Linked DNA regions of Homo sapiens: all the other regions are linked to region 1. The links are contacts of gene promoters, found by promoter capture Hi-C in blood cells and fetal thymus (Javierre and others, 2016). All regions are on one chromosome and are shown on one strand. Each heading gives the region's core, a stretch centred on a gene start or on the middle of the fragment in contact. The rest is flanking DNA. Distances are from core to core; before and after follow the strand shown.

Region 1 (6,099 bases), core at 1,493-3,992:
TACTTCTTGATTAAACAACCGCAAAACAGATTCATGCCTTTGCTCTCTTGTTTCTCCAATTTACCCTTCACATCACTGCAGTTATCTTTTCTAAAATAAAACCCAGGCCTGATAACATTCTGCTGTTCTACTTCATCAATTAACTCCACACATCTTCAAACCTGAATATCAGTAAACTCTGTAGAGACCTAACTACTAGTGGCCAAGAAATATATTCCACTGAAAAACGAATGACCTGATTTCTTAAAAACATAAATTGCAAAATTTAAAGGGAGGGGAAACTGCCAAAATTTTTAAAAACTGCCTGGCATGGTGGCTCATGCCTGTAATCCCCATGCTTTGGGGGCCGAGGTGGGTGGATCACCTGCGGTCAGGAGTTCAAGACGAGCCTGGTCAACGTGGTGAAACATTGTCTCTGCTAAAAAATACAAAAATTAGTAGGACGTGGTGTCACACATCTGTAATCTCAGCTACTTGGGAGGCTGATGTAGGGAAATCACTTGAACCCGGGAGGCGGAGGCTGCAGTGAGCCATGATCGCACCACTGCACTCCAGCCTGGGCAATAAAGTGAGACTCCATCTCAAAAATAAATTTTTTTAAAAAACTTAAGTGACATATAAATCAAATGTAATATATGTATTTAGTTTGAATACTGATTTTTAAAAGCCTTCTTTATCTTTTCAAGATACATGCCAAAGAAGTGATAAATAATATGCTCCAAAGCAACCCATCAGTAAGGAGAGGTGAGGGATTCAACAAGATTGGCCATGTTAATAACTGCAAAAGCTGGAGAGAGGTTTCATTATATTATTCTACCTTTGAGTTGTCTGAAAAATTCCAGAGTTAAAATAAATTTGTTAGAAAAATTGCTGTAGAATATAATTTTATGTGGCACTTCTCAACCTTTTTAATATCATAGCACTATATTTAAAATGTTAATATTTCTATGGCACACAGGAGTATATGGACAAATTGCTTGTAGACAAAAGCAATCAATTCAGGAGCAAAGACTACTGAAGGATTTGTTAGACAGCCCTAAAGACTAAGGGGATCAAAACTTTGGGGGTATCTGTAACCCAGCCGAGACCCTGCTTGAGAAATTCTGAACAAATACAGATAGCTGTTCATTAAGTAATCGTATGTGAGGAAAAGGAGACTATTAACACAGTATACACAGAAAAAGCCCATACTTTGTTATGGCTGTAGTTAGAGATGGGGGTTTCCTACGTTGCTCAGGCTCACCTCAAACTCCTAGACTCAGGCAACCCTCCTGTCTCAGCCTCCTGTGTAGCTACTAGGATTACAAGTGTGAGCCACCTTGCCTGGCTTAAAAGTCCATTCTTGTGCTTGTGTGAGTGTGTATAAAGAACTGGATGGATGACACTGCACATGTTAACAGTGATTATTCGTGAGTAGTGGTATTATGAGTCATTTTAATTTTCTTTTTTTGCTTTTTAAAAGTAAATATTCTACAATGAAAAAACTACTAAATTTCTTAATAGTTCTTCATGGCCTAGCCTCAATTTGCCTTCTTCCTAGTTTCACTCCCAAATATATTCTGTGCTGCAACCTCTTTCCCAGGCATTTCATAACTCCATTTCGTGTGAAGAGGTCTCCACAACAAGAAGTGTCATTCTTTTCTGTCATTCAAAATAGTTCTTCCTCTCAGAACTGAACAAGTGAATGGGCTCAAATGTTATCTGAAATCTGTCACAATTCTCTCCTCTCTCCTCTTCATCCCGACAAGCTTCCATCCTAAGTGTTCCCACATTTCAATGAAGTGGGGAAACATCAGACCTAGAGTGAAAACACACACTGCAGACTGACTTATGCACTTTACTGGCCATGAGGGAGCAGTATGTGGCATATAGGAGGTACTTAATAAAGCGAGTTGAATAAACAAATGTGCTTGGGCAGATTCCTTAATCTCAAGTACTGACTTTTTGCCCTGGACATCAAAGATGGTAACTCACAGGTTCACTGTGAGGCTTGCAGAGTTTTGGTTTAAACTAAGAAAAGCTATGCAAATGACAGCAACCATTTGAAGACGGGTACACTTTGGATACCGAAAAATGCTCTAGTACACTATACTCGTTTGAGCTTACAGCAATCTTCTAAGCAGTTATCATCTTTATTTTACAAATGAGGAATCCGAGGCTCAGAGAGGCTAAATAACTTGACAGAAATCACAGAGCTGGTAGAACTGGGATCAAGATTCGAAGTCGGATCTCTCTGCTATAATGTGCTCTCATTCGCCAGGCTAACGACACGTGATATTCACAGGGCACTGTCCAATCTGCCTCTATTATAGGTATTCGCCTGACCACCTTCACCTCTCCACTTAACTGTCAACTCCACGTGGGCGGGGCGTTTTGCACCTCCTGAGCTCGCAATGAAGGTCTGTGAGCAACGGCCTCGCCTCTACAACACCCGACGGACCCTCTGTGCCTCCTCCCCAGCCCCCCGGGCCCACCTTGTGGTGCACAGCTGCGTCTCCCCCATGAGGTAGCGGGGCAGCTGCTCCCGCAGCTGGATGCGGCCCCGCAGCGCCGCCTGACAGAAGGTGCCGTCCAGCAGGATCTGGTACGGCTCGCGGACTCCGAAGTTGTTGCGGAAGAAGCCAAGATGCTTCTTGGCATGTTTCTGCCTTGTGATCTTCATGCCTGGCTTACCGGGACCGAGGCCACCGGACCAGGAAGCATCAGTAAACGCCTCACGCACGCCCCAGTACCCTCAATGCCAGTTTCACCCGGAAATGAAGCGCCTTTGGCCACGGAAGCAAACGCCTCTGTCTTCCGGGCCTGCCCATTGGTTTACGTCATGTCCAGACCAGCGCGCGCTTCCACCGCAGTGCCCGCGCTTAAAGGGGCGGTCCCTTAGGGCGGAACTTGTGCGTACGCTGGAAAACCGCTGGGGTGCGCGATTCCGCACGGGGGCGCACATGCGCAGTCTGGGGCCACGGTAAAAGAAAATTACGAGAATACATTTAGCGTGTTACCTACGTTTTAGAGGCGCGTAGCAAGAGCTTCTCTGAAAGACTGGCAGTATAGTAGTAGTCAGTGATAATATTGAGCCTTAATATGTTCCAGACACTGTCCTAAGTGATTTACCTTACATTATTCCCCTGAATGTTTATAATTCCCAAGTGAAAGAAGGAAATGATATATTGGATAGCTATGAGTGGGGAGGTTTGTACTGGCTGCTTTCCCATAAAGAAATTAAGCACGTTCACGAAGGGCACGTAGTTTGTTAGTGTCTGGAACCCAGTTTTCGTGCCTGAAGTTCAAATGTTCTTGCTACACCACCATAGAAACTAACGTCACTCAGGAACCATTTGTCAGGGCAAAGGGTGCCACCATTTTGCATTTCCTCCTGCCTTAGGACCATCCTAAATCACTCGCATGGAGTGTTTTGGAAGAACTCTCAAGAGCTTCGTTTGCCTAGAGTCAGAATTCCTAACCTTGAGTCCTGGTTTTGCCACAAACCCAAGCCGTTTGATCTTGGGCAACTCCCGAAGAAAGCTGGGTTCAACTTCCTCACTGTCAAACTGGTTGTAGGTCTAGATAAGTTTCAAGTACTCTTTTTATGTGCATGGTCTCTGACATAGGAAGACTACATACTGGGCCAGTAACAGGAAGGCACAAAGCTGACTGGAGGTTTAAAAATTACTTGGTCAATTTGATTAATGAGGAGAATGAATCAGAAAATTTCAAGTTCTCCCGTGGCTAACTGTCGAGTATCCACTTCAAGGTAAAATAATCAAAGAATGGGGAGTATGGAATTTTGCATTTTTGTCCTTGCCTGGAATCTGTCCCAGATCTAGTTTTGGCTAAAGATTGAAAGAACCAGCACAGAAAATGATTTACAACGTGATTGAATGCATTGTTTGCATTTGGGGTTTTATTTCAATATGTAGGTTTATGAAATTGGAATAAGATCTATAATGTTAGCCCTGATCTGAGTCCCAGCACATCACTTAGATGGTTGCTTTCATTTAAACTTAAAATGAATTTAGGAATTGGAAGCCATGAAAACTTTTGCAGGGTTGGATTCAAGGTCTTTGAGTGTAATTGCTCAGTACTTTTCAATTTGAATCCTCTTTTTATCCCTGTATGCCAACTCTCTACTCCAACTATGCGCCCACCACAGACAGAGAAACGAGATACCACCTGAGTCTTGCAAAACAGTTAAAACATTTTTTCTTAAATAGCCTCAGATTTATCTACCAGCTCCTTGGCCACTTTTCAGTACTAAGAAAAATGTGGTGCAGCACTAGGGATTTTAGTCTTATCTTAGTTTTTGTTGTCGTTTTTTAATTTACCAAGCTACAGCACATTTTTTCCCCAAGCTCTATGTATATGACAGTGCCAGTTTGCACCCTATCTTTATTATGAAAACATGAAGATGGTCTATAATGGTGATTATCAAGTTTAAAACAAAGTTTTCGGCCGGGCATGGTGGCTCATGCCTGTAATACCAGAACTTCGGGAGCCCGAGGCGGGAGGATCACTTGAGCCCAGGAGTTGGAAACCAGCCTGGGCAAAATAGGGAGCCCCTGTCTCTGCTAAATTAAAAGAAGACAAAAAGAGAAAAAAATAGAGTTTTCTATTACAGCAGTGTTTCTCAAAACAAGGTCCTGGGATATGCAGAAAAAGCTCTTAGTGTGCTTGTTTAAAATGCCCATTTCTGATTCAGAATAAGTATTGAGGGAGAGGGGTACTATTCAAAGAGGAAGTGACATTTATTACAATCTCCCCAAATCATTATTATGCTCATTAGTGTTCCTGAAGGACCTTTTTTGTAATAAAGCATCGTTTATCCAATAAGATATTTTTATTAATTGGTCCACTTAATACACTTTTGTTTAGATGCCAAATGATCTGTAATGGAAAATCAATATTTAGCCACAACCAAGGCAGAAGCCAAATACTGCCATTATTGAGTGAACCATTTGGATATAAATTTAAATCTGAAATTTTATTTTGAAAGTTATGTCATTATTAAAATATTTAATATTCATTGAAATTTTTTTGACCTTATACTGAAGGAACAATAATTTATAACAGCATTGCTAGTTTTTAGCTTTTTTCTCAGGTCAGTCCACTGGACATTTTCCATGCCAAATAGAAATCCACATTCAGCTGGAGTAAGTAGGCGATTAATTTATTTTTCTTTATTTTTTATGTTCTTCATTTTATTATGTCTGGATCAAATATAGTTTTATAATATTATGCTGTTGTACATGATTTTGAAGTTTTTTTCTTCATGAAATTTTGATGAAGCCAAGTTGACATGAGAATAATTTATTTTTGAAACGTATGACTAATTCCCAAATAGGACTTTCTCATGAAAGATTCATGGCCTAAATGGAATTAAAGAGGTAAACATTAAATATAATTCATAAAGGTTACTTTGTTGAATTTCATCAATGTTAGTATAATTTTGTTTAATTTCGTAAATGTTAGACAATTTAGCTAACATATCTATTGTGGTATTATTCTTCCTTATATTCATATCTAAATATTTATAAACATTTGTTAACATTCATTAGCTCAAAAACAATTTCTACCTAACATTATCTAACATACTGCCTAAATAAATAATTTAGCTAAATAAATATTTTACGACAACTTAGGTAAAGCACTTTGTATTGAGGTCCTATGAGGTTCTTCGCTAAGATCCCCTAGGATAGGCTCCATCATGGAATGCCTTACTGTGAAATTTCAAATATGTCAGAAGGTGTTACAAAGGTCAGATATGGAGGCTGTCACTTTTTAAAATAATCTTTAAAATAAAATAAAATAACAAAAACTTTATGTATTTCAAATTACAAAAATAACATATGCCTCTTAAAACAAGTGGAAGAACATGAAGATAGTAATTTCTTCTCCCCTTGCCCAGATAACACTTTGATGATGTATTATGTATCTCTTGGCAATGTTTCCATATTTACATATTGATATATCATATGCATATATATACAATTTAATATTTATGTAGAGATACTCTGTTATGCGAAATTGAATCATATTTAACAATTCTATACATTTTGCTTTTCTCACCTAACAATCCTGTAGAAATCCCTACACACATCTACC
Region 2 (6,099 bases), core at 3,367-5,866, 1.3 Mb before region 1:
ACGGTTAAGAAAAATCCTGCAGGACCTTGCAGGTAATTGAAAGGGCTTTATCTCTTAGTGGAGAGAGACAGGGATCCCTTGAGGGCTTTGACCAGAGGAGTTACATGGTTTGAAACACATCATTGTTAAAGGATTTACAATGGACCAGCTTGCCCTCTGTGAAGATAATCCTGGTTAGTAATATTTCCACTTCAAACCACAGACTGAGTCTTGCTTTGAGGACTACCAAGGGGCCTTTAAGAAAGATTTTTCATCAGATTTATTGGGATATGATTGACAAATAAAAACTGTATATACATTGACGATGTTCAACATGATTTGATGTATGTATACATTGTGAAATGATTACTATTATCAAGCCAATTAACCCAACTGTCATGGCACATAGTTATCTTTGTGTGTATGTGTACGTGTGTGTGTGGTGAGAGTACTTAAGATGTACTGTCTTAGCAAATTCCAGGTATACAATACAGCATTATTAACCACAGTCACCATGCCGTATGTTAGATCCCCAGAACTTAGTCGTCTTATAACTGAATGTTTATATTCTTTGACTAACATCTCCCGATTGCCCCAAACTCCCAGACCATGGCAACCACCATTATACTCTCTGCTTCTGTGAGTTTGACTTTTTTAGGTTCCACATATGGGTCAGATCCACACAGAAGTGCAGTATTTGTGTTTCTATATCTTGCTTCTTTCACTGAGCATAAGGTTCATCCCTGTTGTCGCAACTGGTAGGATTTCCTGCTTCTTATGGCTGAATAATATTCCATTGCATATATGTACCACATTGTCTTTATTCATTCATCAATCAACAGACATTTGGGTTGTTGCCACGTATTGGTTATCGTGAATAACACTGTAGTGAACACGGGAATGCAGATATCTTTTTGACATGTTGATTTCATTTCCTTTGGATATATACCCAGAAGTAAGATTGCTAGATGATATATGGTAATTACACTTTTAAATTTTTGAGAATTTCCCTATCATTTTCTACAATGGCCATATGAATTTACAGTCCCACCAACAGTGTGCAAGGGTTCTGTTTTCTTCATGTTGCCCCATTGTTATCTTTTGTCTTTCTGATTACAGCCATTCTAATAGGTATGAGGTAGTATCTCACTGTGGTTTTAATGTGTATTTCCCTGATAATTAACGATGTTGAACACATTTTTATATACCCATTGGCCATTTGAATGTCTTTTTTGAAAAATGTTTATTTAGGTCCTTTGCTTTTTTTTTTTTTTTTTGCTATTGAGTTGTGTGAGTTCTTTGTATATTTTGGATATTAACCCCATATCAGCATTTGGTTTGCAAATATTTCCTTTCCTTCTGTTGGCTGCCTTTTCATTTGTTGATTGTTTCCTTTACTGACTGTGCAGAAGATTGTTAGTTTGATGTATTTCACTTGTTTATTTTTGCTTTTGTTGCCTGTACTTATGAGCTCTTTCTTTTCGAGTTTGTACAAGTGCTGTGATGAAGCTGAATTTTACTAAGTCATTCATTCATTTGAATCAGTGATTGAGCTTCACTTAAGTGCCAGGTACTGCCCTTGGCATTTGGGATAAAGGAGTGAGTAGGACAAACAGTGCTCCTCCTCTCAGGGGCTTCCTTACTGTGAAAAGTTAACAAGCAAACGAACAGAGGAGATTTCAGCTAATAAGGGTTAGGAAAAAATAAAACAGAGGAGACAAAATGATGATACCATTGTAGGGGCTACTTTTAAGATTACAGTTGGAGTTTGAAAAGTGGAACTTAGGCTAATGGTGTTACACATGTAGAGCAATTTACAGTTTACAAATTGAGGCCAGGCACGGCGGCTCACGCCTATAATCCTAGCACTTTGGGAAGCTGAGGCAGACGGATCACATGAGGTCAGGAGTTCGAGACCAGCCATGGCCAACATGGCAAAACCCCATCTCTACTAAAAATACAAAAATTAGCCGGGTATGGTGGCGGTTGCCTGTAATCCCAGCAATTCGGGAGACTGAGGCAGGATAATCACTTGAACCCGGGAGGTGGAGGTTGTAGTAAGCTGAGACCACACTGCTGCACATTCCAGCCTGGGTAATAGAGCAAGACTCTGTTAAAAAGAAAAGAAAGAAAAAAAAAACTGCTGGCAAGAAAGATATTATTATCCTGACTTTTCAAACGAGAAACTGGAGGTCCACTGAAATTAAGCCACATGCCCAAGGTACTAGTAAATGGCAGATCTGGGGTCTGAATTCAAGTTTTCTCTAATTGTCAGCACCAAAGTTTTTCTGACAGTACACAACACTTTGGGATGTACAAGTAGAGATGGGTAACACTGGGGTCTGGGATAAGGAAATTAGCCATAATTAGGCAAGAAAAGCAGGAAGCACATGCCAAAACATAAACAGAACACAAAAGAGCAAGGAGGGTAGCTAGCTCCCCCTAAGGTCATGCAAAACAACTGGCAAGATATAGAGGGGCCAGGCGAGGTGGCTCATGCTGTAATCCCAGCACTTTGGGAGGCCAAGGTGGGCAGATCACTTGAGGTCAGGAGTTCGAGACCAGCCTTGCCAATACAGCAAAACCCCATCTCTACCAAAAATAAACAAAAATTAGCCAGGGCTGGTGGTGCACACCTGTAATCCCAGCTACTCCGGAGGCTGAGGGAGGCAAATCACTTGAATCTGGGAGGCAGAGTTTCTAGTGAGCCGAGATCCTGCCACTGCACTCCAGCATATATATATATATATATATATATATATATATAGAGAGAGAGAGAGAGAGAGAGAGAGAGAGAGAGAGAGAGAGAGAGAGAGAGCACCTCCAGTCCCACAGCCCCACTTCACAGGGCTGAGATAATCTGCACCCTGATCAGAAGAGAAGGCCTCCTGCCTTGAACTGTTGTTCTTAGCAACTTGGGCTGGGGGGAGCTTTGGGTCACATGTGGTTTCAATCACTGCCTTTATCTGCATCATTGTCACTGTATTTGGAAGATGACTGAATCCTTATTCCTGTCCCAGGCCTCTCTACATTGTGCAGGGGGTTCAAGTCAAATCTGGAAAAGCTGTCTCATCTTTGGCAGGTCAGAAATAGGGAGAGGCTTCACGAATGTATAGTAATGTCCCACCCATGCCCCTTCCCTGCTTTATTAAAACAAATCTGAAACAACAGAGGTCTGAAACTTTCCACTCTATCATTTCATACTGCCTTGTTATAACCCTGCCCTTCATCCACACCCCGCTGGGGTTTTTGCAGCCTGAGGGAAGCCGGGAAGTGTCTGCTCCTAGCTCTCAGTCACTCCCATAATAAACAATCACTAAACAGCCGGCTGCCCTAGGCAACTGTCTAGCTTGCCCGAGCCCTGAGACTTTAGCTAGGCCAGAGGGTGGGAGGTGTTTTCTGTAAAGCAGTGTTCAGGATCTGAGGCCAGGGAGTTTGACTTTGACCAGAGATACTGTTTGGGAGCCTAGCACATCTTTGTGGACCTGGAGGATCTTTAGCGGGACTGCTCCTCGGTTACCTGAGTTATCTAATGAAGTTCTTCCACTGGGAGTGGCAGGAGCTTGGGCCAAGGAGTGGGAGGTCAGTGAGGGAAGGACCAACTATTTGGCACTAATTGTACATAAGGTAGTTTTCCTGATGCAAGTGTTCCTTCTATAGCTGGGACAGTTGGCAATTCTACCAGTCATATGTCCTTAAGAGATATCTTTAACACCACCACCACCACCACCACCACCAAGAGAATAACATCACTTTGAGGACTGGGGCAAGCTTAAATTAACTGGTTTCCCTGCAGCCATTAGAAAATTTATTTTTTCTCTGTGATTGGATCTCTTGGAAGCTTTCTTCATAATAGACAGAGGGGGCTCAGGCAAGGCGGCCTAAGTAGATAATGAGGATTTAGGATAGCCGTCTTACACTCTTAGCACAGAGGCAGGCATGAAGAATTGCAACAATTCCTCTTGATTGTAATAATTCCTCTTTATTGTTGGGCATTGGGGTGTTTCTTTGGTTTAAAAAAATGTGCTATGTAGAGGAGGAGTAAGGGGAGATTGTTTTAATGCTTAGCAGAAAATTGAAATACTGGGTCTCGGAGAGTGGAAGGAGGGCTGGGAGAGGCAGCTTTCGGATCGGCGGTCGCTTTCTATGAAGTCTTCCTTTCCTCCCTGCTTCCCTCCTTCAAAGCATCTTTCTCTAGGCGTTCCGGCAGGCAGCCCAGGAGGCCAGATTCTCCAGGGCGCCCGGGGCCGCGCGGCACGGGGCCCCTGCCGGTGCCTCCTTCCCCGGCCGCCGCGTTTCCGCAGGCGCCTCTGGTCCCCGGCACGGCGCAGGCCGAGATCCGGGCCTGGGCGCGCCGAGGGGCCGCGGGGCTCGCACCGGGCCGTCCCGCGCTCCACCTGCCCGGCAGCCCGCCGGCAGCTTGCAACCCGGGAGCCCCGGCTCCCTGCGCCCCCTACGCCCCCAACGCCGCGCCGGCGCCTCGGCCCGCGGCCGGGGGTTATGAATGGGCGCAGCGGAAGCACCGCCCCCCCCGGACGTGACGCTCGGCCAATGGCAGCGCGGGCTGCGTGGATGGATGAGGTCAGCGCTGTCGTGTCGGGAATGGAATGTGTAAGTGTAACATTCAGAACCGGGTAACATTCGGCGACCGAACGCGGCGGTCGGCAGCGTTCGCGCGGGGGCCTGCGAAGCGCTGCTCGGGGCCGGCACTGCCCGCGGGGAGGACGCGCCGCCGCCGCCACCCAGCGCCGCCGCCGCCGCCGCCTCCAGCCGGGCCGCCGCGCGTCCCGGGGGCCGGCCCCGCGAGCGCAGGAGTAAACACCGCCGGAGTCTTGGAGCCGCTGCAGAAGGGAATAAAGAGAGATGCAGGGATTTGTGAGGTTACGGCGCCCCAGCTGCAAGATGCACTAGCCGGCTGAACCCGGGATCGGCTGACTTGTTGGAACCGGAGTGCTCTGCACGGAGAGTGGTGGATGAGTTGAAGTTGCCTTCCCGGGGCTCATTTTCCACGCTGCCGAGAGGAATCCGAGAGGCAAGGCAATCACTTCGTCTTGCCATTGATTGGGTATCGGGAGCTTTTTTTTTCTCCCCTCTCTCTTTCTTTTCCTCCGTCTTGTTGCATGCAAGAAAATTACAGTCCGCTGCTCGCCCGCCCTGGGTGCGAGATATTCAGCCCCGCTCTCTCCCGTGCATTGTGCAACCCAAAGATGAAAGACCGAAGGGGAGAAAGTTAAAGAAATCGCCCACATGCGCTGGATCAGTCCACGGCTTGGGGAAAGGCATCCAGAGAAGGTGGGAGCGGAGAGTTTGAAGTCTTTACAGGCGGGAAGATGGCGGACTGGAGCTGAAAGTGTTGATTGGGAAACTTGGGTGATTCTTGTGTTTATTTACAATCCTCTTGACCCAGGCAGGACACATGCAGGCCAAAAAACGCTATTTCATCCTGCTCTCAGCTGGCTCTTGTCTCGCCCTTTTGTTTTATTTCGGAGGCTTGCAGTTTAGGGCATCGAGGAGCCACAGCCGGAGAGAAGAACACAGCGGTAGGAATGGCTTGCACCACCCCAGTCCGGATCATTTCTGGCCCCGCTTCCCGGACGCTCTGCGCCCCTTCGTTCCTTGGGATCAATTGGAAAACGAGGATTCCAGCGTGCACATTTCCCCCCGGCAGAAGCGAGATGCCAACTCCAGCATCTACAAAGGCAAGAAGTGCCGCATGGAGTCCTGCTTCGATTTCACCCTTTGCAAGAAAAACGGCTTCAAAGTCTACGTATACCCACAGCAAAAAGGGGAGAAAATCGCCGAAAGTTACCAAAACATTCTAGCGGCCATCGAGGGCTCCAGGTTCTACACCTCGGACCCCAGCCAGGCGTGCCTCTTTGTCCTGAGTCTGGATACTTTAGACAGAGACCAGTTGTCACCTCAGTATGTGCACAATTTGAGATCCAAAGTGCAGAGTCTCCACTTGTGGAACAATGGTAGGAATCATTTAATTTTTAATTTATATTCCGGCACTTGGCCTGACTACACCGAGGACGTGGGGTTTGACATCGGCCAGGCGATGCTGGCCAAAGCCAGCATCAGTACTGAAAACTTCCGACCCAACTTTGATGTTTCTATTCC
Region 3 (6,099 bases), core at 2,344-4,843, 1.3 Mb after region 1:
TTCACAATAGGGAGAAATGACATTTCTTTAACACAGATCACTTTAAAAAATAATTGTGGGTAATTTCTTGCTATAATTTATTTACGTCTTTTGCCGAGATTGTGTGACCAATTCAGTGTGTTCATCTAGAGGAAAAATAATGCCAACAGAAAAAGAATATAAACATAAGGCAGGGGAAAATAAAGTTGTTGAAAAGTTAGTGTTATATTTTCAGAGCCCTTCTCATGAAATAAAATCTCACTCACCAGGAGTTTTGTGTCTCAAGTTGGGCTGCCAGGTCTCGGTTTTGGTTTCCTGATATTCTGCTCGATGTACAAAATGTCAAAGTGAGAAACAGCTTTAACTGTTCCTTTTGGTACGGATGACTGAGGGGCACTCTCCAGAATGCTTGATGCGATGAGGTAGTTCTTACTTTGGTATGCGATATAGTGTGATTAATAAACTCCAGATCACAGAGAGAGCCGGGTGCGAGTAAGGCTCGTATGAGTGCAGTTTCCTACCCAAGACAATGTATTACCTTGAGCTAATCTGGTGGTACTGAAGAGAGAATTTTTACGTATGTATACATAACAAAGACAATCACTGCTTTCTTCTTGAGCAGCTGCAGCCAGTCCCACTAATGGACGTGCAAAAGCAAAAACTGGCAGCATAAGGTATGTGTTCGTTTTTACAGATGGTACTGCAGACAAGTTGGTAATTGAAAAGGAAGTCGTGTACGTGAGCTATTTGACGGGGCAGGGAGTAGGGACAGCCTATTATAGGACTTTCCTGTGTAATTGACTGGGTGAGTTATTGAAGAGGTAGTTTTCCCGTGAAAGATTTCAGTTATTACAAAATTACATCATTATTGTTAAGGAAATTCATAATTCCACTTCGTCTTTTAAAAATCATGTTATTAAAACTTTAGAAATCAGCTCAGTTTCCCTGCCTGCACAGTACCTCTATCATGAAATTATCTGCTCATGGTCGGTTTCACCAATAGTGGTCACAGAGCTCTTATTTAAAGACAAATCTTTCATTTGAATAATGACATAACATTAAGTGCTTGTTTTAATCATTGGAAAGGTGTCCGTAAATACCTATGATTTTACCCGTCCTGAGGACATACAAAATTGAATTAAATGAGAGAGAATATTTTTAATGATTTATAGTGTCAAAAATAAATGAAATTCAGGTTCATTTTTTTTTAGTCTCCCACTGCCCCATTCCCCGTGTTTCTAAAAGTCAGACAGAATTGCGTGGTCCCAGAGGTATTCCCGAGATAGTCTGTGAAGTATTTAATCCAAATTGCATATTTGGTGTCAGGCTCTTTTTGTGGACACATTCATAGTTTGTCATTAACTCTTTTAACTGTTTTGAACCTCTGTATATTTAACTCATGTATTCCCGTATGTTTTTGTTGTTTACATTAAAATAAGCAGTGGTTGCCATCTTTCTGCTGAGCAGACTCAAGGCTGCGTTTTAACATCTGACTTGTACTGAATACTCTCAATTGGATAGCCTATAAAAAATGTTTAGAGTTAGGAGTATTTTTGTCATTACTCTTCTGTGATGAAATGCAAAAGTATATCACATATGAGAAGTATAATAGTAAGCTTCATAGATAGATGAAGAACATGAAGTTTTATATATAATAGTGGGGGAGTTTTTAAGCAGACATTATTTAAAATATTTTTATATTATCTGATTCTTGAGGAATTTGGTAAAATAACCTCACCTTTCAGAACTGCCAGTAATTTATCTTGAATAAAAATGATACCAAATATCACAAAAGGTCTCTGCCTTGGAACATACACATATATAAAAGAAATCTAGTAAATTGTTACCTGAACATGTGTGTTTACAGAGCATGTCAAAACCCCAGCACCATTTTTCTTGCCCCAACTCTAGCCAAGTCTTCTGCAAAAGCAAAGAGAGACTTTCATTCACAGCTAACCTCCCATGTAGCAGGCGCTATGAGAGGCTAAGTCAGTGGTGTCACCAACTTCTGCTTTTAAGCAGCGGCCTGTTTCACATACTTTTTTTATTTTTTTTGACACAGCAGGATCAAAACACATGTACTGCACCCCTCCCCCCTCCCCAGCACTGCCCCCTCCATCAGCCAAGTGCTCTGTTCCTCTGGCTATGACTGTGTCTGTCGACCTCAAAACAGCTCGTTGCCATATCTGATGAAGGATGACTCATTTCTTTCTGGTACCTCAAAACTTGCATAATTTCAATCAGCTGTTATTGGGTGGTTTGAAGAGATAAGCGTTCTTTAAGGCCAGGATATGGTGTAATATTTTTGGTAAAAATTCCCCAATCTCCTCTTTAGTAATAAGGCCTGAAACATGGTTCACTGTGGCTTTGAAGTGAGGGCAACCTGGGTTTATATCTTAGCCCTACTATTCAGCAGTTGCAAATTGCTTCTAAGCCTCAGTTTTCTCATCTATAAAGTGGAGGGAATAATAATAATAATGATAATAATACTTGCCTCTTAGGATCATTCTGAGGATATCAGATAATGAGACTAGGCCTATCATATGTTATCCTGCAAACATATGTGCAATGATGATTATTTAAAAAGGGACAAAGATAGTCAAACAAGAGTATTCTATTAAATAGTTGATTCAAAAATTCTTTTTTATTTAATTAATTTTCTATTTATCTATTTTAGAGACAGTGTCTCGCTCTGTTGCCCAGGCTGGAGTACAGTGACATGATTATAGCTCACTACAGTCTAGAACCCCTGGGCTCAAACCATCCTCTCTCCTCAGCCTCCAGAGTAGCTCAGATTATAGATGCATACCACCACACCCAACTAATTTTTTTTTTAACTTTTTGTAGAGACACGTTCTTGCTGTGTTTGCCTTGGTTGATCTCAAGCTCCTAGCCTCAAGCAATCCTCCCACCTTGACCTCCCAAAGCACTGGGATTACAGGCATGAGCTACCACGCCTGGCCAAAAATGCTTTTTAGAATATGATCCTGTCATATTGCCTAGACTTAGAGACCAGAATGTGTTCTTTGATGCTAGATAAGTCAAAGAACTATTGTCAGTTTTGTACTTCATCAATAAAAGGAGAGTAATAGTAATTAGTAATTCACCGTAAATCTGAACTGGGATAATATGTGTTAGGAGTTCTTAACCTTGGGATCTGGATCAGTCGGCACTCAAATCCACAGGAAATCTTTGGATACATTTTGTGAGGGACATGCTTTTGACCATGTTAAAGTTATTTGTAAATATTTTACACTTTATTTTTTTCTGGAGAGTGTCATACATTTCACCAAAAGATTGTATGATCCCCAAGAGTGTGAGAAACCATCGAGGAACCACTGAATTGTATATAGCTGCCTCGAGGGTGGCAACACTTCATAAACCAGTTATTATGTTAGATACTATGAAAAGAATTATTGATTTTTTTTCTGTTTTTTCCCAAAATAACCATTATATATTATAAAGGCAGCCCTAAAAAGGTGTAATACATGAAATATTAATAACTGTATCTGACTCTCTAATTAAATGCCTAGAAGCTGAGACTTTTGGCTTTTAGGACTTTTCTAGAAAGGTCTTCATCGCTGATATTTTTATTTTTAGAATATGAACCTATCCCAGAATAAATCTGCTTATTAAATATATTATATAAATAAAATATGCAACAAATTTATTAGAAGAATCAACTCTTGTGCTGTCACACTGAAGTTTAAGAGGTGCTAAAATTGTTTAACTGTGCCTCCAAAAGGCCTTTTAGTATTTTTTTCCTTCCAGTGTCAGATTTTGGCACTGGCATAGAAGAAAGTCCCCATAGAGCTACTTTCCAGCCATTGTTGTAGCTGAAGGAAGGGTGAAAACACATACAGGATGGCAAAAATAGAAGCTCTGAGAGACTTGAGTAGTTCTTTTAACAATAATGACTTTCACGTGGAATGAAAAAAAAGACAGTGCAGACATAAATTTTCAACCATATTTTTAGCTGTCCAAATGCATATTTGCTGTAAAGGCAGAACATTATTACAGAAACAGCGTGGTTAGAACTCCAGAAATCTGGGTTTTTCCAATTCTGATTCTATTATGTAATTTCATTATGACACAGGGTGTTTGGTTTGCTCCTTTACCAAATACAGGGTTAGCTACCAAATATGGGGTTAGTTAAAGAAGGGAGATGGGGTCCTCAGATCTGTGTAATAGGTTTTATATCTGTGTGATAAATTTCTAAAACCTTGAGATGTAAAGAATCTGTATGAATAAAGAGTGGGATATACATGGGGAAATAGTGATTTTCTGCTCTTTCACTCTGAGAATCACCAGTTACATCTCAGAAGAGATGGAGCTAATGTGTTTAGCACAGCAGCATTACCTGATATATCGGGTAGCTCCCTATGTGGCGACATTGTCAGTGGGATAAGTCTTAGGTGCATTCATATCTCAGTGCAAGGTATGATTACTGGAGTATGTATTGCCTCATGTCCTGGAACAAAAACTGTTCTATTGCTCTTAGCCAGAGATGCCAGTTTAGTTTACACTGGTCTCCATTATCATTGCTGATGTGTTGAGGAAGTGAATTTAATAAGCAGGGTAAACAGGTTTTGTTTCCAAGCTCTATGGTGATTATAAGATGGGTGCTTGGCTGAACCTGATAGAGTCCCTTCAGTTTTTTGGCAAGAAATCTGAGGGCAAAGAGGACTGTTTTAAAGCAGGCAAAGACATGCAGTACAGCCCATTTCAACGGATTCTTCACAATTTTATTTGAAACAAAAGTTGGCCAGGATATTGGTAAACTATTGCTTTCTGTTGGCAGAGTGCTTTCCCTGGTCTTGTTCAATTGTTGGCCAGCCTGTGCTCCTGGTAAGAGTCTGGCTATTAATCTAAAGGTGTTTATTGCAAACCACCATCTATTTTTAAGTTGTTTTAGCTCCTGAATTCAGTATATTCCATAGGGTCTACTGGTGTGTAGTCAACAGCTGGTTAATTCTATTTTGGAGGGGAAGAGGGGAGGGACATGGCCTTCGATGTCTCCTAGTGGCGCATGATAGAGATAAGAATAAAATAATATTCAACACTTATTGAATTATGGAATATCAACAATTATTGAATATCAACTACATATCTGACAGTCATGAACACATTAAGTCATGTCAACTCTATTGGTAATTAATAGAACAATGTGATTGATAGGACATTATTACTAATGTGAAAATAAGCAAGTATTAATTTGTTTCTGAAGTGACTTAAACTGTTACACGTTTTTACAAAGGAGCACAGGAAGTAACCCCTCTGATTATTAGGTAACTTTTAGCCTCTAAATGAGATTTATGAATGGGCAATACTTTGGTATCTTCAGGAAAGTTTCCACGTAATTCACATGATTTCAGCTGTCAATGTTCATGAACAATTTCTGTTTGTGTTGCTTTAGCTCCATAATTAGTATGTTTTTAGAAGATTCCACTGGAAAATCTGCAAGATTACAGACCATGTTTGTCTCACGCTGTGACCCTGGCTTGTAGCACAGTGCCAGGCACATGGTGGACACGCAATAATTACTCCCAGAACTTAATTGACTTAATTTACCACTGAAATTGTATTACTGTGAAATCGTACCAGAAGCTTTGCTCATAACCATCTATGCATTTCGCTAACATGAATGTTGCAAAGACTTTTTGATATAATCAGATAAACACAGAAAATATTTAAAGAGTTAAAAATATTTGAGGTATATTCATACTAACATTATATAAATCAGATTTCAGATTGATTCGATTTAAAATGGCTAAGATATAAAACCATAAAAAATGTGAGTAAATATTCTGCCTATCAGGGCTTGTTATGTAATTACATGGTTTCAGTATGGTTCTTATTCATAGAAAATTATTGTAAAAGATCATTTCTTCACAAATTCCTTCACCAATGGAAACCTTTAATATCTTGAAGATGAATATCCATGTCTGTAAATGTTAAGCCACTTTAATAAATCATTCAATCAAATTTACTTCATATTAATCAGATGAAATCAGTTCCTTTTCAAAATTTGGAGATTTGGAAACCTTAAAATTTTTATATTTGGCTGGTCTTCAAATAATAAAATAAAATAAGGAATAAAAACAGCCGACCCAATTTAAA
Region 4 (6,099 bases), core at 1,262-3,761, 1.3 Mb after region 1:
TAGAAAATTTTAAATGGAAATGCTTACACACCCTTAGTGACAGCCACAAATCTTGCCACTTTTTGAGAATGAAGGTAATTTTTTAGTATTTAGGGATGGTAGCAACACGTTGATGCGATAGTTTCTAAAGGACAGAGCTTTTGTTTAGTCGTATGTTAGATATGTTACATTGGTTTATCATATTAAGATTCATATTAAGATTTAGCTGTATGTTCATACATTTCGTATGTGATATAAAAGTTTTAAATTTTAGAGTGCATTTGTCCTCTACCACATATAGTTTATATGTAGAAATATGTCTTATCCATCTTTTTGATATGTCACCTATTATTTAACTTGACTAGCAATTTAACTTGCAAGCGATTCACCCTAGAAGTTAGATTTATTGTAGTTGAATAAACTGTTGTCCTCTCACTTTTATCATATAAACCAAAGGGTCAGTTGCCCTTTGGGGAAACCCAGAATATGTCAGATCTTTGTCAGGTCGCTGTGGGTCTTTGTCAGGTCCCAACTCTGTCACAGGGATTTTAGGCAACTAGAACCACAGGTGTCACTTCCAAAATTGATAGCTTGTTATACTGCAACCAGAGTCAATTTTAGATTGGAGAAGAGAAAGAAAAAGATAGGAAATGATTGAAGCTGTGGGCACCAAGAAAGGGCAGTGCTGGAAAGAGAATGAATGACATAGACACCCAATAACAGGGAGCGTTGGTCATTTTTGCATGGACCAAAACAAAATTGAAGAAGTACTGCTGATCAAAGGCCAATACAATGCACACATATCATTCTGGTTAGGTTGTCTCCTGAGAAAAATATTTCTCAGCAGCAGTATGATTTATTTTGAACAATATCTGATTGAACAGCATTCTAGTAATGTAGAAAATTTATAGACATCTACTAAATTTTATTCTAGCAGATAATCCACATTAAAAGAGACAAAAGTCCATGTTTTACCTAGAACCTCTCTGTGGCTCCTTTTCTCCACCAGAAAGACAATAATTTCATATCTGGCAGAAGTTAATGCTTTTTAAGTTCTTGACGTGTATACTCTGTGGAAGAAGTGACCTAAAAGGAAAACCAAATAGTTTGATAAAGGATAACTGTAAAGAACAAAAAAAGTAAAACAAACTACTATAAGACTAATAGTCCTTGAGACAAGCGCATGAATTAGTGATGAAGTATTGCTTTACTACATCCTGAAAATTCTTTACATTTATTTCTTCAGTTGAATGAAGCTTTCTAATATCTGTGTCTGGAACTAATTCTGATAACCTTGGCATTCAAAATGGAGATAAAGGATAGATAGCCTTCCACAAAACGCTTCAGTATGGCAAGAAGAATCATCTAATATTGACAAATAAAGCAACGTGACATCTGTGTTGAATTCCAAATTGACTTGTTGAGCTGTGCAAAAAAGTAAAAGAAGGTGCTTATTTTCAGGATGTGAAATACATTGGGAAAAGCCAAGGTCAAAGATGAAACATGACTCAATGCCAAAGATTTTCAATCTTAATGAAAATCTCTTTCAATAAGAAATTGACGATTGAGAAACAGTGTCATTGTTAGAAGTTCGATGTTCTTTTGGGGGTCTAACAGACGAAGCCCCAGAGAACTGACTTTTATTAATAGATAGCTTAAGATTTATAGCTTAGGAAGAACAGATTAATAGTTTTTGGAGTAAAGCCTGAATTATAGAAGGATGACCTGAGCCCTGGCATGAGTGATCAATCAGTTCAGTGTCTGCAACTGCACAATTTTAAGAACTCTTAAAAGGCTCTTTGGCCACTGAAAATGCATTATAAAGGATAAGTCCATAACCAGCCAAGTCTGGAATATATGTTTATATGGCTATACAGATCCAGTGTTTCTTTAAAAATAAAGCAAAGGGTATGACACAGGTTGGTTTGCTGTTACTTAGGATATGTACGATTGAATTGAGCCTAAGATAAGTGGGATGTACTGGGTAAAATGTGGATGCTGGAGGAGGATGCACAGAGGCTAATTTGAATCCAGGAGATTTTTCCATTTAGGAAATAGAATTGGAGTCAGGGAAGTAAAAATCTTGAATACAAAGCTAAGAAATTGAATTTTCCTTGTTAATCAGGGTTCAACCATTGATGTTTACAAATGAGAAAAATGTTTCATGCAGGTTAATCCTACTGCAATATTGGCAGGAAAGGTGGAGGTCAGCGGGAAGAGACCTCTGGAAACCTGTTGAAGAATGAGTACTTCCAGGGTAAAGCTACAGCAGGCAGGACAGCAGAGTGGTGGCCTAGGCATTGGAGATAAAGGCAAAGATAAAACACAGATGGAAGGAAAATTCCTAAGGCACCATGAGACACTGGATATTGAGTGAGAGAGAATCCAAAGAACGAAGAATCACTCACGTCGAGCTCAGCCTACTAGGACGTCAATGGGTTCCTTATTTGTTTTCTGTAACTCTCTTCTCAAAATGGATCAACTTCTTTCAAACTTCCCTAGTGCAAATTCTGGTTTGGTTACTTTTCTTTTCTGTAAAATGATAAGAACATTAATTAGTCTTGAAGGAACCATTTACTGCATTGCAGATGATTAGAAAATTGACAATACCAACAAAAATTGAATTGGATTCTTTAGGTTTAATATTTGGCCTAAACTAACATATTTCACCTGCCATGTGCCACACTCACTGATTATTCCTGAGATATTCACCAAACCCTTCCCCACACTTGGCAGTGAGTTCATTAATGACAGGTATTTATTTTTTATCTGTCTCCATAGCCTCAACACTTAATAACATTCCTAGCACTTAACAGATGTTCCATAAATGATGATTAAATGAATAAATAGAAGCCTAGTGTGATTCCCAGCTTTGCCTGGAATAGGTCCTGCTCCAATAGGAACTCTTATACCTCTTTAAAGAGATAAGGAGTTCGGCTTCAGGGAAAACACCTTGTAGACTCCATTTATCATTACTTTTCTAGGTTGTTGTCATACAGGAAAAAAGAAATGATCTGACACATTTCTTTCCAGCCTTACACACTAATACAGTATAAGGAGCCACAGAGAGGAATTTTAAGATTTTTTTTAAGGGAGAGTATTTGATTGGCCAAGATGTTTGTTTAATTCAAGAGAAGGAAAGCCCCAAATGCTGCCTAAACATAAACTCACAATTCAAAACATTTTAGAAATTATCTGGCAACTTTACATAGAGTCCAAATGTTTCCAGGGTATGCAGAAAGATGCCCCAAAGTCTTAAGTACCCCCAGGGAAAGTAGATCAAAGTTTAGAGACCATTTAGACTCACTTCCAAAAGGATCTGGCCTCAGAGTTTTGCAGTAGTGAGCAAAAATTCTAGAAAGGTCTAGGTTCAGAAACCATAGCAAAGTTACAAGAGAAAGGTTTTCTAGCTTCTGTTTCTTATGCCATTCAACAAGATTTAGAAGGAAATGCAGCCAAATTTAATGGTCGTTACCTGATGAAAAACAGACATCCTTTGGATTATCCTCAAGCAGAACTGAACAGAACTAAATGCAATTAGAAGACTCCACGGAGGCCAAGATGATCAGATGATCGAGGAAAGCAAACTGATATAAAATATAAGCTCACCATGTTAGGTAACTCATGTGTTTCCAACATGGTGCTATTAGAGGAGCATTAGAGAAATTTACTGTATCATGAAGTGCACATTCGTTTCCTCGGCTGAGGACAGTACTACGACAATATTTGACAGGAAATGTAGAGAATTTTTATTTCAGTCAACTCTAAAAAGAATGGCGAAATTCTTGAAGCTGTGTATGATGATTCTCTATTAATATTCTTTGTTCAATCTTTAAAATGGCGTTTATTTCTCAAAGGAAAGTTCGTGCCATCAATATTGATTCCATTATATTTGTGATATACATCAAGTTTTATCTTCAGAGTGAAAAGTTCTTTGTATATCTTTGTAGTAAACACAGATTTTGTTCTCATTTTGAACATGCACTAATTTCTACATGAACTAAATTTCTACATGAACTGGGCACATTGGCTTAATTTAAATAAACATGTTAAGGTGGTCATTACTATTCAAGAGTCACCAATGTTCTGATTTTTTATTTTATGTTCTGCTTTTTTATTTTAGACAGGCAAGTTGTTAGCATTTTTTTCAAGGAACAAAGAACAAAAATTATCTTGATAAGAACTTGTTTCTGAAAAGCTAGATTAGCTCTTCTCTGCACACCAATCATGCAATGACAGTACAATTTAGTGACTTAAGCAGTACATTAGGATTCTCAGCCTAGGCAGAAGCTTCACCCTCGGGCCAGACCTATATAATAGTTGTAAGAAAATGATTTATGTGTTGTAATAAATGTTACTTCTCAATCTGTTTGCTTGTTCAATGGTTGAGGTCCCAAAAGAAAAGGTCTATCTCAAATTAGGACTGGCATGTATTATCTGTCAACTTTATATAGTACTGTAAAAGTCATTCAGCTGACAGTAATATTAGCGGAATGTTTTATAGATTTTTGTACTGTGTGAAGCTTTGTATGGGTGACGAGAGACTTTGGGTCTGTGGTGCTCTGTGGTCCGGGATAAAGTTGCGTGTAGATGAGTCGTTTCTGTGCTTCTCTGTAAATGAACATCTGGCTCACATATTGATTCCATGTGTGAAAATGAGATCAGCCCATATAATGACCAGAATCAATCAGGCTTCAGCCGAGGAGTAACATACACTGGTCTTGATTTGTTAGACAACCAGAATTGGCAGCACCTTGCATAATTTGGCACCAATTGACAAAGATTAGGCTGTTTGGGGACCCTGAATGGTTATTAATTTGAAAACCCCTTATATATTTTGCAGAGTAAAATCAGCTGTAACTTATTTGTTCCAGCCCCCTTCTTCTCGTACGAGCCCTAATTGTTTTAGACAAACGAACGAGCTTGCAGCCTGTTCACTTTACACAGGAAGACATGAATTCTTTGATCCATACAGTATTCTTTAGCTCAACCTTGGAGCTATTTACTGAGGAGATTTATTTGCAGACAGACAGTAGAACAGTTCTTTGTGAATAGAAATGAGTACAGCTTCTATGTGTTTTCAGCTCAAGTTTCTGCTACTTACTGTAAGGGAGATAAAACTAAGCCATCTTTATTTTTAACCCAAATCATTCTTTTTTAAAATATAGTTTTAAAAACTGAAAATGAATTAGACTCTTGACCTTTTTACTTTTTCCTCACAAGTTATATTTACTAGAGCACAGATTGAACTCAGAGAATGACCAAATACCATTTCTTATTTTGTGAATTGTGTTAATCATGAAGAAAAACTTGTGAGATTTTAAAATGGGACAGGCGTTGATTGTGAACATTTTACAAATGTGTCTCACTCCTTAATTCCAGGCACAAATAAAACTACCTGTGTTGTATGAACACTAGTTAGTTCAAGAAAAGCAATAAAAATCTACTTTTAAAAATTATTACTGCCAAGTAGTTTTAAAGATACAGACTCATTTACTTTGAATTTAACTAGTAATATTTAGGTAAGTATCTAAACCAATATTTAATTTTTTCACCAATTAAATGAGAGTTATTGGAACAGTCTCTCTAAATGCTTTATATATATGAGCCAGGCAATGTAATAGTAACAATAACAAGATAGTTTCATAACTAAGCCTTTCTATAATGCCATAAGATATGAACTCCATTAGGACTGTTTGATTTCTACTTGACACAGAAGAGAAAAAAAAATGATGAGTTTGATTAACAAAATCAGTTCTAGAAGTGAATTTCAATTCTCAATTATATTTGACAATAAATTACTCAACCGTAGTCATCTCAGAGCTTAATTTGCTGAGCCTCTTGATAACCAGTATATGAAAAGTCACCCCCATGTTTTTTTTTCCTGCATGTTTTTTTACCCCATTTTTTCCCCTACAAATTTGTAGGTCATTAACATTATTCATGAAATTATTTCCTTTATATTTCTTTTAACTTAATTTTACCAATAACTTTTAGAAACCTGTGAGTAGCGTCATATAAATCTTTGTAGTTCATTAACAAGATAAATAACTTTCACTGCAAATAAATATATTTTGACTCCAAAAGAAATAATGGTAATTAAATGTTTTATTTTCTAAT
Region 5 (6,099 bases), core at 2,265-4,764, 1.1 Mb after region 1:
CTCTCGCCTTCCTATTTCTTTTTTTTTTTTTTAAACAAAAAACAACACCCCCTCCCCTCTCCCACCCGGCACCGGGCACATCCTTGCTCTATTTCCTTTCTCTTTCTCTCTCTCTCTCTCTCTCTCTCTTTTTTAATAAGGGTGGGGGAGGGAAAGGGGGGGGAGGCAGGAAAGACCTTTTTCTCTCCCCCCCGCAATAATCCAAGATCAACTCTGCAAACAACAGAAGACGGTTCATGGCTTTGGCCGCCGCGCCACCATCTTTCGGGCTGCCGAGGGTGTTCTTGACGATTAATCAACAGGTAAGGAGGGGAGGCCCGAGCGGGCCGCGGGGCCGGGGGCTGCGGGGGGCGCGGGGGGCGCGGGCGCCCCTCGGCCGGGCCCGGGGCGCCGCGACGCGAGTGCAGCGCCCGCTCGTGTGCGCGCAAAATGTGGGCGATCGCGAGCGGGGAGCCCTGGGAATTAAAAGTGACTTTCTTTGAAAAAAAAAAAAAAAAAAAAAAAAGCAGAGGGAGAGTGTGCAGAAAGCCAAGCGCAGGCTTCTCGGGTTTCACATGCATTTTCTTTCTTCCTTTTTGAGCGTGTGATTTCTTTCTTTCTTTCTTCTCTTCTGCTCCCTTTTTCCCCCTTCCTCTCCTCCTTTTGGTGGGTCTGAGGCATCTGAGCTTTGGAAACCAGCGACTTCAAACTGCAGTAGCCCCTGGAGTCAGCAGGGTCAAGTTCAGCCGCCGGGGAGGAGGAAAAACAAATCCCCATTTGCCAAAAAAAGAAGTTTCAGGCCGGTGCCCCCTCCCCCTCGCAGCCCCACTCCCCCTCGCTGTCTCTTTCTGGCTGATTTTAATTCTCTCCTACCGGGCGCAGCGGAGGAGCTGGAGGTGGTTGGACCCGAGGGGCCGCCGCCGCCGCCGCCACTGCAAGTTTTCTGGGGGCTCGTGACAAGCGGGGCGCAGACTAGGCACCAGCATGCAGAGTAGTAAGTTGGGCGAACTCGGGAGGGTCGGGAGGGTCTCAGAGACGGGCCTCCGTATGGTCTCCAAAGTGGGAAAACAGCACAGGACTGCCTTTGGCTTTGAAGAGTTTGCAAATGCAGGCTTCAAACTTTTTTCCCTTAAAGGCCCAGCTGGGCTCTGGAGAAGGCGGGTGTCGCATCCCTTGGTGCACCCGCCTCAGAGCGGCTCAGGACAGCTTGGCCGAGCGGTCTGTGCCCTGTCCGTACCATGTGGCAGGGCCTTGCAGCCCGGGCGCTTCCGTAGGGGCTGAGGAAGGGGCAGACTTCCTCTGCGATGCGGTTGATGCGCCATGTGTCGCGCGGGTCAGGGGACACTGGCCGGTGATTAAATGCCTGACAGCGGTGGGACATCCAAGCGGACAGACGCTTTGCCTTCTGTCTGGTTCCTGTTTGGGATCTAGAGAAACGCATCTTTGAAAGGCCAAGGCAAACATCGCTGTCCCTCCAAATAACTCCAGGATTATAGGACCCCAGGAATAATTTGAGGGTGAGGCGGCGGTGGGAGCTGTTTGAAGTGTAAAGCTGTTTTTGTGGCTGGGAAAGCTTTTTCGTTAGTACCTGTCTGAGATGGTGGTGTTTCCCCCTTTCCCCAGGGAAGTCAGCAACTGTTTTATGGCCCCAGGACTCTAAAGCAATTTAAGTTAGAGGGTGAGAAGGACTGGTGGGTTTCAGAGGGAATCTTGGACTTATTAAATTTTAGGACCGGCTTTACTTCCCTCTATCTTTTTAGGCCTCATATTTGATGCTTTGAAAGTTTTTTGAGTAAGCCATTGATCTTAATGATGAATCTAAATTATGATAGAATATTCATTCTTATGCCATTTTGGAAAATCACGGCTAGAGTTTAAGCGAGGTAAGTGAAGTGAGAAGCTCAGCGGAGGAGTTAAATCTGAGACAAGTTAGGCCTATTCATTGAACTTTTGTAGATTCATTGAACTTTTGTAAACACACCAGGTGAACAGGAAAGGAAAGGGTCTGGGAGAGATAATAAGTACAAAAGAAAAATACAGATAGGGCCTGAGACAAAATTACAAAGAAATGATAACTCTGGGCCTGGTTGTTGGCTAAAACTTGATTGTTCAAAGCAAAAATAAAATAGGAACCTTCCAACAATTCTTCAAAGTCCTCCAGCTCTGAAGCTAAAACCTATGGATCTTGCTGGCATCATGTTACTTTCCTGCTGGTTTTAGAAAAAGTTGATCATTTAGAAAAGGCTGCCAGAGTTAAAAATGCAAGGGACAGCAGAGGAAAGTCATGCGGGCAGCCAGTTCTTGACGTGGACAAAATGAGAATGAAAGTTTCTGAACTCACTGTTGTGAAGTTTTACATGCCGCTCATTTGCTTAGAAGGCTCTCTCAGATATTCCACCAGTTAACGTATAAAAGCAAACAGGATCTAAAATCGTGTGGGCTTTTTTTTTTTTCTTTCCCCAAGTATGCCAGGGTTGTGAATAAATACAGGGTTTGTATGGGAAGATGAAGCGTTTCCTGTAAGTTCTGATGCTGACAGGACAGTCTGGAAATGATACCAACATTTTGAGGATTTTTTTTTTTTACCTTTAAGTGAAAGTTTATTAATGATATGCTTAATCTTAACAAGTCAAACATATTCTTAGAGTTTCTCTCTCCTTGGATTTCATAACTTCCTTTTAAAGCTACACCTTTGGATAAAAACATCTCTAGATTCAGTTCAATATACAGGGCTAGTAACATGCTAAAGTTTGACGATTATTTCTGGATGTTAATAATGTGAAAATAAAACTCCTGAGGGGCAAATAGAGCCTTAATACCAACATTATAACTTGATTTCTCTGAATGTGAGGCCTTCTGAAGCTTCATTAGTACTCTGTTGGCGAAGTATTATTTACCACTGGCGAGCTGATGTTTATGGCTTCCTGATATGTATGTTATATGTTAGGATATATATGTGTAGACTGCTTTTCCATACATAATACCTAAGTCTAACACTTTTCAAATAAGTGGTGGAAAGTAGCAAGTTACTAACACAAAGTTTGTCACTCCTTTGAATTCTAGATGCTGTAAGGGTCTGTGCTACTATTTAGGTTTTGTCCTTTGTCTCTTAAAGGTAACGTTAAAGGTAAGGAGAAAAATGTCATAATAGCTGTGAAGTCTGAGCTGAATTTAGAACTTAGCATTTCGATGACTAATATTTTAAATGATTTTATAAAATTTTCTGCATACGTGTTTGAAAACCAGTTTAGGATCGGAATCAGTGTGCTAATCCGAAATAAGTTACACATACTACTACCATATTTTCAGTATTATTTAAGTCACCTACCACTCCTGAGTTTATTCTGATTTACATCATATAGATCTCTTCCTATAAGGAAATATTCATTCATAAGGAAGACCTTTAAAACAGGGAAATGCATGCATCTGTAGAAAAGCAGCTTTTACGATTCTAGTATTTCAGTGACGGTTCTATTATCACTACTATTATTAGATGTATATGTGTATGTGTGTACAGACATACAACCCACAATATGTGATTAATGATGTGTACATTTTTATTAAGAAAGCAACCAAAGACTGTAGATTTTTATAAACGCTTGTCTTACCTTCTTTGTTGTAAATAAACATTACTGAAAGTTTCCAGAGGACTTGCAGCAAATTGTTTTTGAACTAGAACTTTATTCCAAATTTGAAATTGGAATAAATGCTGATAACTGACCTTTAAACATTTTTCATAACATGAATATTTTAGAATAATTATATTTTAACTTCAGTTCTTCTTTTGATAGCAACAATAATGTAACAACACTATGCTATTACGTGTACAACAACACAGACTTTAAGAAAGTTATGGGCAGGTGTCTATAATTGATTTAAAGGAAAGATTATTTTTGTAATAAGTGATGAACTTAAAATGACTGGCTTACATTAAAACATATTCTTATTAAGATTTCTCTGGTGTGTAAAATGAAGCCATTCATTCAACAGGCTGACAACTTTCCACTTGGTATTTGCCTTTCCTTAATTTAGTTTCCGCAGGACAGCTAGTGTGGTAGTCTGCATCTGTTTTTAGCAGGCATAGAAAACTATAAACTCAGACAGTTCTGTCCCAAATATTGCAGCTCACAAGTTACAATCAATTTGATAAAAACCCGCAAGTTTTATGGGCTCGTATTTTGTTGTTCATCCTTGCTAGGTCAAGCTTTCAGGTAATAGGTTTCTTTTTCTCCCTCTTTTGCTGATGATAACTGCTAATACCATTGATAACTAATTCTGAGTCTTGTTTACTCATTTATCATCCTTATTTACCATTTGTTGAAGTTTTGGGAAATTAATGACAGCATACGTAGACTTGCGTTTACTTTGATGGCTTATCTGTGAAAATGACATTTATCTTTTGTTATTATACAGAAATAAGTAAATTCTTTGTTACCATAATAGTTATGATTTATGGAATTTTTGAGTCCCCCTTAGATATAGCATAAAGATGGTCTTCTAGCCTTTGCCAAGTAGACATTTAATCTAATTGTTTAAGAGTGCTTGTCATGTATAGAAAAGACTAACATACTTTGCAATTATTTACATTAAAAATTATGTAGAGGTTTGTTTTAGTGTAATTTTAAAAATAATTTGTCTCCCAAAAGCTGTAACCAGTGGATTAAAGTAAATAAGCTAAAATACCAAATCTTGTTTTATACCATTGTTCTATAGCAAACAGTGCTGCAGAGGATGTAACTACTTTTTAAAATTTATCCTCCGATGTAAGTAGGGCCAAAGTCATTTGTTTGTATAAAATATTCTATTAATTATATATGACCTTTATAAATAATATCTTCGATTTTATTATTATGATCACTTTTTGAGCTATCACAGTGCTCAGTTGTTCTCCTATTCCTGAGAACTGAATTTGGCCTTTAGTTTGGTTTTCTGATGGACACAATAATGTAGAACTTGACTTTGGTTAGAAAGAGATCTTTGAGCTTCAGGAATCTCTGAAGGTGCAGTAGGATCTACAGGTGAAAACCATTTGAATTGTTAAGCATTAGTTAGGTGAAGAAACTCTACTGGTCCCTGCAGCATATAGCAGCTATTATCGTAGCGGTCTACTTTTTGCTATCCCAGTTTTTTTTTTTTTTTTTTTTTTCCTTTTCCAAGAGCACAAATCCAAATAGCAAAAATGAAGGTGAAATTATCTATGTACTTCAAATTTGGAGCATCATTTGAAATCATTTTCTGATTCTAAGCTATAACTGAAATACAAATATAACATTAAGACACCCCAAAGAAGACATTAAGGATACACTTGTCGTTCTTAAGTGTGTTTCACTAAAAATAATAACAAAAAACTTTTAATTTTTAAAATGTTTCTAGCTTTTAAAAACCTGCAGTAAATACTTTACAAGTGGCTAGACACCTTCCCTGGTGGTTTAGTTTATACAAGCAGGAAACTTTCTCTCCTACTCTTTCTCTCTCTCTTTCTTGTTTTCTTTAAACCAACTGACGTAATGCCAAACTTTGCTTTAAAAGAACAGACAGAAGTAATTGGTAGCTTTTAACTTTTAATAATGTTCTGGATTGGTTTTAGTGGCCAAAATGCCATTTAAAAAAAAAAAAAAGTTCAAGTAAGAACGGGCTTGTGGCCTGAGGAAGAAAGGCTCTGTTGATGCAGTTATTTTTATTCTTGTTTTTCAATCTGTTATTAAAAATCTTTCCTGCTGAGCACTGCTGGATTTCTCCAATTGCTCTTTGTGATGGCTGGTGCATTTCAGGTTACCGTAACTTAAACAGTTTTTGGGTTTTGGGGAAAGTGGGTATTTGCGTTGCATTATTTCTTTCTTATTTGGAAAAAAAATCCATTTGTTTTTGTTTCAATGGAGATTAATTAATTAAGGTTATCAATGGCCACAGGTCAAAGAATATGTTTATATAACGAATGCGACACCTGTTAGCAAGAGCCTAAAATGTGGAAGTTTAAATGTGACATTAATCATTTTTATGTGCAGAGGAAGGAAAATAGATGAAACTTTACGAAAATGCATTTTTAGATTGAAAACATTAATTTTAAGGGTCAGTGCGTTTCTACAGGCAGCTCTTTTTTTCTTACAATTTTAGATGATA

The links. The method cuts DNA at HindIII sites, captures the fragments that hold promoters and counts their contacts. A CHiCAGO score of 5 or more calls a contact.
Region 2: a contact is called between the fragment with the promoter of EXT1 here and the fragment with the promoter of UTP23 in region 1, in 10 of 17 cell types (naive B cells, non-activated CD4 T cells, naive CD4 T cells and 7 more). The highest score is 13.5, in naive B cells.
Region 3: a fragment that was not itself captured here is called in contact with the fragment with the promoter of UTP23 in region 1 in 1 of 17 cell types (monocytes); the score reaches 5.2 in monocytes.
Region 4: the fragment with the promoter of TRPS1-AS1 here is called in contact with the fragment with the promoter of UTP23 in region 1 in 1 of 17 cell types (monocytes); the score reaches 5.1 in monocytes.
Region 5: a contact is called between a fragment that was not itself captured here and the fragment with the promoter of UTP23 in region 1, in 2 of 17 cell types (total CD4 T cells and fetal thymus). The highest score is 7.1, in total CD4 T cells.

The regions. Positions count from the first base shown.
Region 1 is chr8:116,763,167-116,769,265 of GRCh38, reverse strand. It overlaps UTP23 (UTP23 small subunit processome component), which reads right to left and starts at 2,742. Exons shown (of 3, transcript NM_032334.3): 1 at 2,475-2,742. The coding sequence starts at 2,662. It also overlaps a transcript of EIF3H not described here. RefSeq lists enhancers at 2,356-2,665, 2,676-2,825. The HindIII fragment of the contact is 9,967 bases long and covers 1,751-6,099 here.
Region 2 is chr8:118,110,343-118,116,441 of GRCh38, reverse strand. EXT1 (exostosin glycosyltransferase 1) reads left to right here and starts at 4,616. Exons shown (of 11, transcript NM_000127.3): 1 at 4,616-6,099. The coding sequence starts at 5,396. RefSeq lists silencers at 4,194-4,573, 4,674-4,763. The HindIII fragment of the contact is 5,337 bases long and covers 3,823-6,099 here.
Region 3 is chr8:115,423,833-115,429,931 of GRCh38, reverse strand. All of the region lies in intron 5 of TRPS1 (transcriptional repressor GATA binding 1), which reads left to right. Among named protein-coding and RNA genes, the nearest start is that of TRPS1-AS1, 83 kb to the left of the region's middle. RefSeq lists an enhancer at 2,034-2,083. The HindIII fragment of the contact is 3,991 bases long and covers 1,598-5,588 here.
Region 4 is chr8:115,506,015-115,512,113 of GRCh38, reverse strand. It overlaps TRPS1-AS1 (TRPS1 antisense RNA 1), which reads right to left and starts at 2,511. Exons shown (of 2, transcript NR_186605.1): 1 at 2,388-2,511; 2 at 789-1,065. All of the region lies in intron 5 of TRPS1 (transcriptional repressor GATA binding 1), which reads left to right. The HindIII fragment of the contact is 3,034 bases long and covers 1,238-4,271 here.
Region 5 is chr8:115,662,748-115,668,846 of GRCh38, reverse strand. TRPS1 (transcriptional repressor GATA binding 1) reads left to right here. Exons shown (of 7, transcript NM_014112.5): 1 at 1-302. Among named protein-coding and RNA genes, the nearest start is that of TRPS1, 3.2 kb to the left of the region's middle. RefSeq lists enhancers at 1-115, 228-277, 1,258-1,377, 2,415-2,504. The HindIII fragment of the contact is 1,342 bases long and covers 2,844-4,185 here.